Regions from separate parts of the Homo sapiens genome. Here region 1 is linked to region 2. The links are contacts of gene promoters, found by promoter capture Hi-C in blood cells and fetal thymus (Javierre and others, 2016). All regions are on one chromosome and are shown on one strand. The core of a region is centred on a gene start or on the middle of the fragment in contact, and the rest is flanking DNA. Distances in the headings are between cores, read along the strand shown.

Region 1 (4,320 bases), core at 1,257-3,756, 670 kb before region 2:
ACTCCTAGCCTCAAGCTATCCTCCCTCCCACCCCGGGGGAGCCACCGCACCCAGCCGATGAAAACGTTCTGAAATGAGTGGTGGTGGCTGCATAACTCTGAACACACGAAAAACCACTGAACCAGTTCACCACTCTAAAGGGGTGTTTTCAGGCATGTGAACTACATGTCAATTAAAGCTTTCTTAACATAAAAGAAAGAAGAATACTTCTATTAGAGGGAAAACTCAGGAATTTCTTTTTTTTTGTGAGACGCAGTCTGGCTCTGTCGCCAGGCTGGGGTGCAGTGGCGCAATCTCGCTCTGTTCACTGCAAGCTCTGCCTCCTGGGTTCAAGCGATTCTCCTGCCTCAGCCTCCCGAGTAGCTGGGACTACAGGAGCCTCCCACCACGCCCAGCTAATTATTGTACTTTTAGTAGAGATGGGGTTTCACACCACGTTGGCCAGAATGGTCTCAATCTCTTGACCTCATGATCCGCCCACCTCGGCCTCCCAAAGTGCTGGGATTACAGGCATGGGCCACTACACCCAGCCAACTCAGGCAATTTTTTGATAAAATAAATATTAAATGATCAACCACCAAAAATAAAAAAATAAAAAAATAAATCTTGAGTATACTACTCCTTGTGCTTAGAAAGAAAATAATATTCTCAGCCAGGCACGGTGGCTCACGCCTGTAATCCCAGCCCTTTGGGTGGCCAAGGCGGGCAGATCACCTAAGGTCAGGAGTTCAAGACCAGCCTGGCCAACATGGTGAAACCCTGTCTCTAATAAAAATACAAAAATTAGCCAAGCGTGGTGGTGGACGCCTATAGTCCCAGCTACTTGGGAAGCTGAGGCAGAAGAATCATTTGAAACCAGGAGGCAGAGACTGCAGTGAGCCGAAATCGCACTCCTGCACTACAGCCTGGTGACAGAGTGAGACTCCATCTCAAAAAAAAAAAAAAAAAAAAAAAAAAAAAATCCATTAACACCCTCCAAACAATACGGTGGCCACTTCAGAGCTCAGGATAAGGAATCGTCAGTTCCTGTGGGAATCTACATACCTGGGTGCCTTTCGGAGTCCTATCTACTTTCACACACAAGTAGTCTCCGTTCTTCTGCCAATGGAGCTTGCAGTCCACCACATTGAACAGGTTCCTCACTCGGATCTCTTGCCTGGTAGGGAGCTGCATCAGGGTTACCCTGGCTGGAATATCTTTGTCTTCAGGCACCCAGAAGGCGATTATGTTACCACCAGGAGACCAAGAAAAGTCTCTGCAGAACAGGAAAATAAAATGTTAAAGCAAAGACCAAGTGATGACGAAACTGAAAAGCAGAAGAGAATAGAACAACTCATTTGCTATATAGAAGCTCAATGCTGTCACAGCTGACGCTGAGCGCTCCCTCTGCACAGCCACTGCTCTGGGCATGCCGCGCAGCTTCATAGGTCCTCGCCAGGACCCTGTGGCACTACTGTGCTCACTGTGACAAGGAGTGAATGCAGACAGAATATTAGCAACCCCACCATCACGCACAGACTCATATGGACTCCAGCCTGGGCTCCGTCAGCCCACTCTTAAGACACCGCACACTGCTGCTTTGAGGCAAATAAGTTTTAGGCTGACGGATCTGGCTACATGTCATCTAAAGATTAATTAAGGTGCAAATGGGGAAAATGGCAAATCAAGTGTAAGGAATGAGCAAGAACAAGGGCAGCTCCCTCCACTTTATCAACTACTCTACAGAAGAGCTGCTGTAACGAACGGCTCCTGAGCTCACCTACATGAAAAACATCTTTATACACGCTATGTGCTGTTTTGCATTTTTTGAGAACCAACGTCCTGGTCTTTTCATTTTATAAGCCATAATTTTGCCCAAGAATGTAAAAACGAAAGAAGAAACGTCAATGTCCTTGGATTGTTGGAAGTTCACTGCCGTGATACTGACCAGTCCCAAGTTTTGCGATAAATAAAAACGTGCCCATTCTTTGCTGGTGAAAATGAGCCGAAGGCTCCCCAAACCCTGCCTCGGATGGAAGAGTACCAGGAAAACCTTTCACCTAAGCAGAGTCCCCTCTTTTCCTTAAAAGGCTGGAAACCCCACCCTCCTCAGTTTCTAGATCAAAGACGAGGTAGATGGAAGGAAGCCGACTCAAGGCTCTGGCCTTGAAAATTCATTTCTAGGCACGGGAAGGGGTCACTGAAGTGGTGCCTCAAGGGTGGCGGGCCCAATGCTGAGCAGCCTTGCTGCCCACTGACTCAAGCCTCCATCCTTGTGTCCAGAACAAACTCACCTTAGGCCGGGCGCGGTGGCTCACACCTGTAATCCCTGCACTTTGAGAGGCTGAGGCGGGCAGGCGGATCACTTGAGGTCAGGAGTTCGAGACCAGCCTGGCCAACATGGTGAAACCCCGACTCTTCTAAAATATACAAAAAATTAGCTGGGCGTAGTGGTTGCGCGCCTGTAATTCCAGCTACTCAGGAGACTGAAGCACCAGAATCGTTTGAACCTGGGAGGTGAAGGCTGCAGTCAGCCGAGATCACGCCACTGTACTCCAGCCTGGGCAACAGAGTAAGACTCTGTCTCAAAAAAGATTTAAAAATGGCTGGGTGTGGTGGCTCACGCCAGTAATCCCAGCACTTTGGGAGGCTGAGGTGGGCAGATCACTTGAGGTCAGGAGTTCTGAGACCAGCATGGCCAACACAGTGAAACCCCATCTCTACTAAAAATACAAAAATTAGCTAGGCATGGTGGCAGGCACCTGCAGTCCCAGCTACTTGGGAGTCTAAGGCAAGGAGAATCACTTGAACCCAGGAGGTGGAAATTGCAGTGAGCCAAGATCTCGCCACTCTACACCAGCCTGCAAGACAGAGTAAGACTCTGCCTCAAAAAAAAAAAAAAAAAAAAAAAAAAAAAAAAAATTTTAAAAAAAGAACAAACTCACCGTTTTCTCTCCAACTGGTTAAGAACTGAGTGACAGGCTGGGCATGGTGGCTCACGCCTGTAATCTCAGCACTTTGGGAGGCTGAGGCGGGCAGATCACAAGGTCAGGAGTTTGAGACCAGCCCAGCCAACATGGTGAAACCCCATCCCTACTAAAAATACAAAAATTAGCCGGGCTTGGTGGCACATGCCTGTAGTCCCAGCTACTCGGGAGGTTGAGGCAGAAGAATCACTTGAACCCAGGAGGTGGAGGTTGCAGCGAGCCAAGATCGTATCACTGCACTCCAGCCTGACGGAGCGAGACTCTGTCTCTAACAACAACAACAAAAAGCTGAGTGCTAAAGGAGAGACAGCAAATAAAGGAAACCAACTGCAATGGACCACGTCTGTGTCCCCCAGATTCACAGGGTGAAATTCTAACCCCCTGGGGTGACGGCATGGGGTGGGGCCTTTTGGGGGGTGGGAGGTCCTGAGGGGGAAGCCCTTGGGAATGAGATGAGAGACTTTACAGAACAGGCCACGGAGGCCTTCCTCCAGGGAAGGCTGGACCGAGGGGCTGTCCACTAGGAGGGAGGTGGGCCGTCACCAGACAGTCTGCAGGCACCCTGACCTCAAGCTCCCAAGCTCCAGAACTGGGAGAAAGAAATCTCAGCTGTCATAAGCCACCCAGCCTATGGTATTGTGTTTTTTTTTTTTTTTTTGGTATTGTGTTAAGCAGCCTGAACACACTAAGACACCAAACTGATAAGAATACTCACTTTATCCCAGAGATCTTCAAACTCTTCTTGTCCAAAAGACCCATAGACTGCCCAAAAAAAAGGAAGGCTGCAGTTGAGTCAAATCATGTCAGTGTCTCAGAAACACACCTAACTTTTTACAAAAGGAAACAAGAGTCTGATGTGAGTTTGCCTAGGGGGCAGTGCACACAGAGCGTGACAGTGAACCCATCCACCCACCCGCCACCCAGAACTGCAGTTCTGAAGCCCACTGCATTAACTCCCATCCAGGACTTCCCACGGCTGCGCCAGGTGGGCAGGAGTGACTGAAGAGCTCTGCCCAGAGCAGGGGCAGTTAAAAAGGCACAGGAGACAGGCCTTTCCTATGCATCTGTGAAACCTCCTCCTCCTCTTCTAGCACAAATAAGGAAAGGCACCACACCCCGGTTACAAGCAAGGACCGGACGGGGCGTTTGCCATCACTGAGGCCACTTACAGGAGTTTCATAGATGCTAAGCGTATCCAGGGTCATTCTGGCAAAGAATTTGCCATCATGGCTCCACCTAAGAAAAACAAAAGTGCCAGGGTATTCCCATGAAAAGACAAAGGCTACAGAGCTCGTTACAATGGTCCACTTACTTAAAAATAGGCCAATGGGCTGAGCTCTCACAGTGAAAACCC
Region 2 (4,612 bases), core at 1,807-4,306:
TCCCAGCACCGGCTCCTCCCTGCACAGGCCCCTCCAGCAGCCCAGATATCCCCGTGGAGGAGGGGGCAGGGGCGCGACTGTTCCTCTCTGAGTCCCACACTCTGCGGCAGCCGAGCAGGGGTCTCAGGCCCTGTGCGTGTCCATGGATGGGAATATGGGCGTGAGACCCTCCCCTTTCCCCTCTAGACCTGGCCTCTCTCCTGCCTGGAGGGGTGGGGGGCTCCTCTCTGCCCTGCCTGGGGAGGCACAAGTTGCCATCCTCATCTCCAGCACTACCTCTAGGCTATCTCACCCCTGCCGCGAAGCCCAGATCAAACAGGGTAGCAGCTTCTCCAAGGTCACAAAGCCAGTGAGGGGCGCTGGGCCTTGGACCCCAGCCTGGGCGAGTCACCTCCTCTGAGAAGCCTCCCAGCCTGCCCCACTGAAAGGGGACGAGCAGTCCCTGCTAGTGCATTGCTCGTGGTCATTTCCTGTGGCCCTCGTTGTTTTCCTAATGCCTTCCTTTGCTCGAGTCATCCCACCGGACCCTCAGCTCCTTAAGGGCAGTGCCGTGGGCTGAAGTGTGCCCAGCATCCCTGGGATGAAGCCCTGGCCCCCGGCTGATGAGAGGAGGCAGCGGGTTCTCTGGGAGGTGATCGGAGTTAGCCGAGGTCATGAGGGTGGGGCCCACGATGGGATTAGAGCCTTTACAAGGAAGGATGCCAGGCTGGGCACCGTGGCTCACACGAGTAATCTCAACACTTTGGGAGGCTGAGGCAGGAGGACTGATTGAGCCAGGAGTTCAAGACTAGCCTGGGCAACATAGCGAAACTCCATCTCCACAGAAAAAAGTTTTAAACAATAGTTAGTGCATGGGTGTGGTGGCACGCACCTGTGGTCCCAGCTACTATGGAACCTGAGGTGGGAGGATGGCTTGAGCCCAGGAGGTGGAGGCTGCAGTGATCTGTGATTGTGTCACTGCACTCCAGCCCGGGTGACAGAGGGAGACCATCTCTGGAAAAAAAAAAAAAAAAGAAAGAAAGAAAGACACCAGGGCATCTGCATGCCCTCTCTCTCCCTGTCTCTCTTTCCCTCTCTCTCTCCATCTCTCCCTCCCTCTTTCTCTCTCCCTCTCTCTCTCTCTCTCTCCATCTCTTTCTCTCCCTCTCACCCTCTTTCTCTCTCTCTCCCTCTGTCTCTTTCTTTCTCCCTCTCTCTCTCACATACACACGCACACACACACACACACACTCTCTCTCTCTCTCTGTCTTGGGAGGACACGGTGAGAAGGTAGCCATCTGCAAACCAGGACACTGGCCCTCCTAGAACCAACCCCGCTGGCACCCGATCCCAGACTTCCAGTCTCAGGGCGGGGAGACAATGTGTGCTGCTGTCTAGACTCCAGTGTCCCGCTTTTGTTATGAGAGCCGGGGCCGACAAAGGCAGGCAGGAGTCAGGTCTGCCCTGCTCACTGCTGTGCCCCCACATCTAAACCAGCCTGGGGCTCGGCATACAGTAGGTATTTAATAAATGCACACTCCAGGAGGAAACAGACTTTGTCTGGTAACCCTAGGGCCTGGCGGGCCCAACAAGATTTGCTGAGTAAATGTTTGTGAATAAATGAATGGGAGTCAGTGAAACCAAACCAGCACGGTTTTTTTTTTTTTTTTTTTTTTTTTGACACGGAGTCTCGCTCTGTCACCCAGGCTGCAGTGCAGTGGCGCGATCTCGGCTCACTGCAACCTCCACCTCCTGGGTTCAAACAATTCTCCCTGCCTCAGCCTCCCAAGTAACTGGGATTACAGGTGTCCACCACAACGCCCGGCTAATTTTTGTATTTTTTAGTAGAGACGGGGTTTCTCCATGTTGGCCAGGCTTGTCTTGAACTCCTGGCCTCAGGTGATCTGCCCGCCTCAGCCTCCCAAAGTGCTGGAATTACAGGTGTGAGTGGCCGCGCACGGCTGCACAGTTTTCAAAGTGGGGTTCATGGGCTTGGCGGGCTGAGTCTGCTCCTGCCTCCCAGCGAGACTCGCCCAGGCTTGTGCCAATGGTCCTGCTCCTGCCCTTTAGGGAGTGCCCTCGACGCGGACACCTGAGCCCTGAGCTGCAGCCCTGGAGGAGGAGGACGCAGCTGGTGCTGGGAAGGGCTGGGAGGCCGGCCACGCACCTGGCACGCTACTACTTCCTGGGGTTCTCAGGCAGGAGCAGGGTCCTGGTGGCCTTCCTGGTGGATGGACAGAACCCTCACAGCCCCAGCGGGCTGCGCATGAGCTCTGGAGCCACAGAGCAGGTCCCACCATGTGCCTGTCGGCCACGTCTGCTGCCTGGCACAGCCACGTGCATCCGGAGCCGTCTGCAGCGTAACTCAAAGTGAGGGGGATGGGCACATGTGCACGACGCCCGACGCCCCTCTGCAGCACTCAACAGGGAGGGCAGGGAGCTGGAATTTGTCCCAGCTGGGCACAGGCTGCTGTTGGCAGCCAGGGTCAGGGAGACTCTCAGAGTCCCCCACTTCTGTGGAACAGACAGTTTCTTTGGTTCTGGAATTAAACTATTAATAGCAGTGGAGATCAAGAAACTCAAGTGCAGGGCAGCTGACAGGTGGTCTCGAATGCACCCTGGAGGGTGTGCAGCCAGCAGCCCTCAGAGTCAGTCTAAGTTTGGCAAAGGACCGCTGTGCGGGCCAGGCATGGTGACAGTGACGTCTTGGTGTCAGGGCCTCCTGTCTCATACCCTCGCTCCTGCAAGGGCCTCTGCACCTGGGCAGGTGGGCGTCTGGGTGCTGGGGGAGCTGACTCCTTCAAGGAGATGGTTTCCTGTCTCAGGGAGGTGGGGGGTACCCCTGGGATCTGCTTCTAGGGGCATAAGCTCCGGCCTATTGAGTGACTGATGGACCAGAGCTCTATCTTTCTAGAAGGCCTGGGAGAAGCCAGGAATCCCCTCCCGGAGCCTCACCCCACTCCTCCCTCCAGCCATCCTCCTCCAGCTCTTTGTGACATCACTGCCGTTGCCATGGGAACCCTGCCAACTGAGCGGATGACTTCACAGGAGGATGGGAGGCGCTGGGCTGGGCCGGCCTGGGTCTCGCAGCAAAGGTCTTTGATAACCAGCAAAACGGCAAAGGGAGGCAGGAAAACCACCCGCAGGGAGGCCAGTGTGGGTTTAAGGTGATGGCATTCCCCAGCCCTGCCCGGCACCGGCCTCCCAAGCCTGGGACCTGGGGGCTCCCTGCCTCCTTCCAGATGGAGGTGGGCATGGTGGAGTGTGAGGGGCCTGGGTCTGCCGGGGCTGGCTGGGGAACCCTGGCTGGAGCTGCTTCAAGCCTCGGTTTCTCTTTCTAGGAAGTGAGACCAGGACCACAGACTGGGCGCTCCCTGCTGAGTCTGTGGCCCTGAAGGCTGTTCAGCTCTAAGCGTCGGTGCACGGACAGGCCAGACAGGGCTGTATTGCTCCAATCGCCCTGCAAGAATCACAGCCAGACGGGGGCTTCCCGAGTGCTGCCCACCTTGCCGGCACGCAGGAGGAGGTGGCATGGACTGGGGAGGAGGAAGCACTCTCACTCCTGCTGGAGCCTCTGCCCAGGAACCCCGATTGGCCCAGCCGTCCCTGGGGAGGCCCATCCCACGTGTCCCGCACCCCGTGTCTGTCAGCACTGATCAGGGTCTCCCAGACACCTGCTCTGGGGTTGCCATGGGGACGAGCGGGAGGGTGAGTGTGGCGCACACAGCTGTCTGTAGACACACAGAGGGCATGCACGCATGTGTCTGTGCTCACCTGCATGTGTTCACACGGACTGGGCACCGCCGGAGGTGTTCACACAGCGGTGTACACCGACCCCTCTGCAGATGTGCACACACCCAGCAAGGCTACGTCCACAGGCGTGTATGTGTTCTTGCACCAGGAAGTGGGTCACGCCCCACACCACACATCGTATACTCTGTCCCTGCGGCACGCACCTGTCTGGGTGCACCAGGCAGTCTAAGCCCATGTCACCTATGTGTACACATATGTGCACATACCTACTCAGGCACACCAGTGTGTGTACACGGCTGTCCAGGCACACTGGGCAGTCCAAGCCCACGCCTGCCCAGACTCTTGGAATCGGGCACTTTCTGAGGCTGCCCCGATGGGCGTTCCTTTCCCCAGCCAGTACATCCTCTCTTCCTAACCCCACGTCTGCTGGACTCTTAAGGTGTCCACGCGGCCATGAACATCTCCAGGGCCTGCACTGCCCACTACCAGGACCCCAGCGGAACCCAGCATCTGGTCACTAGGGGTCTGCATGGGCAGTCACTTCCTGGGGGCCTGCACCCCTTAAGGAGGGTGAAGGACGGGCCAGCCCAGCTGGGGCTGAATCCTCACAGCCTTGTTCACAGGGAGAGGCTGACCTGCGCCCATTTTACAGACAACAAAACTGAGGCTGAGAGAGTAACAGCCCGGCCAGCACATGGCAGAGCGTGGCGCAGGCCCAGGCCTGCCTTGTGAGGTCCCTGCCGTTCCCTGCAGGGTACATAGAGGCGGAAGCTGATGTGGCCCCCACTGGGCGTTCTTTCACTTTCTCTCCTTTGATTCCACAGTCCTCAGACCTAGGAATTAAAGAAACGTCCGTAGTTTCCGATGAAGGAAATATTAA

The links. The method cuts DNA at HindIII sites, captures the fragments that hold promoters and counts their contacts. A CHiCAGO score of 5 or more calls a contact.
Region 1: a fragment that was not itself captured here is called in contact with the fragment with the promoter of LNCRI in region 2 in 1 of 17 cell types (naive B cells); the score reaches 5.8 in naive B cells.

What each region holds. Positions count from the first base shown.
Region 1 is chr7:2,366,407-2,370,726 of GRCh38, reverse strand. It overlaps EIF3B (eukaryotic translation initiation factor 3 subunit B), which reads right to left. Exons shown (of 19, transcript NM_001037283.2): 7 at 4,279-4,320; 8 at 4,136-4,202; 9 at 3,682-3,728; 10 at 1,045-1,255. Among named protein-coding and RNA genes, the nearest start is that of EIF3B, 14 kb to the right of the region's middle. The HindIII fragment of the contact is 4,651 bases long and covers 181-4,320 here.
Region 2 is chr7:1,692,794-1,697,405 of GRCh38, reverse strand. It overlaps LNCRI (lncRNA radiation induced regulator of PLK1 and RAD51), which reads left to right and starts at 3,056. Exons shown (of 4, transcript XR_007060188.1): 1 at 3,056-3,146; 2 at 3,321-4,612. The region is part of intron 2 of ELFN1 (extracellular leucine rich repeat and fibronectin type III domain containing 1); the gene reads right to left. The HindIII fragment of the contact is 12,694 bases long and covers 1-4,612 here.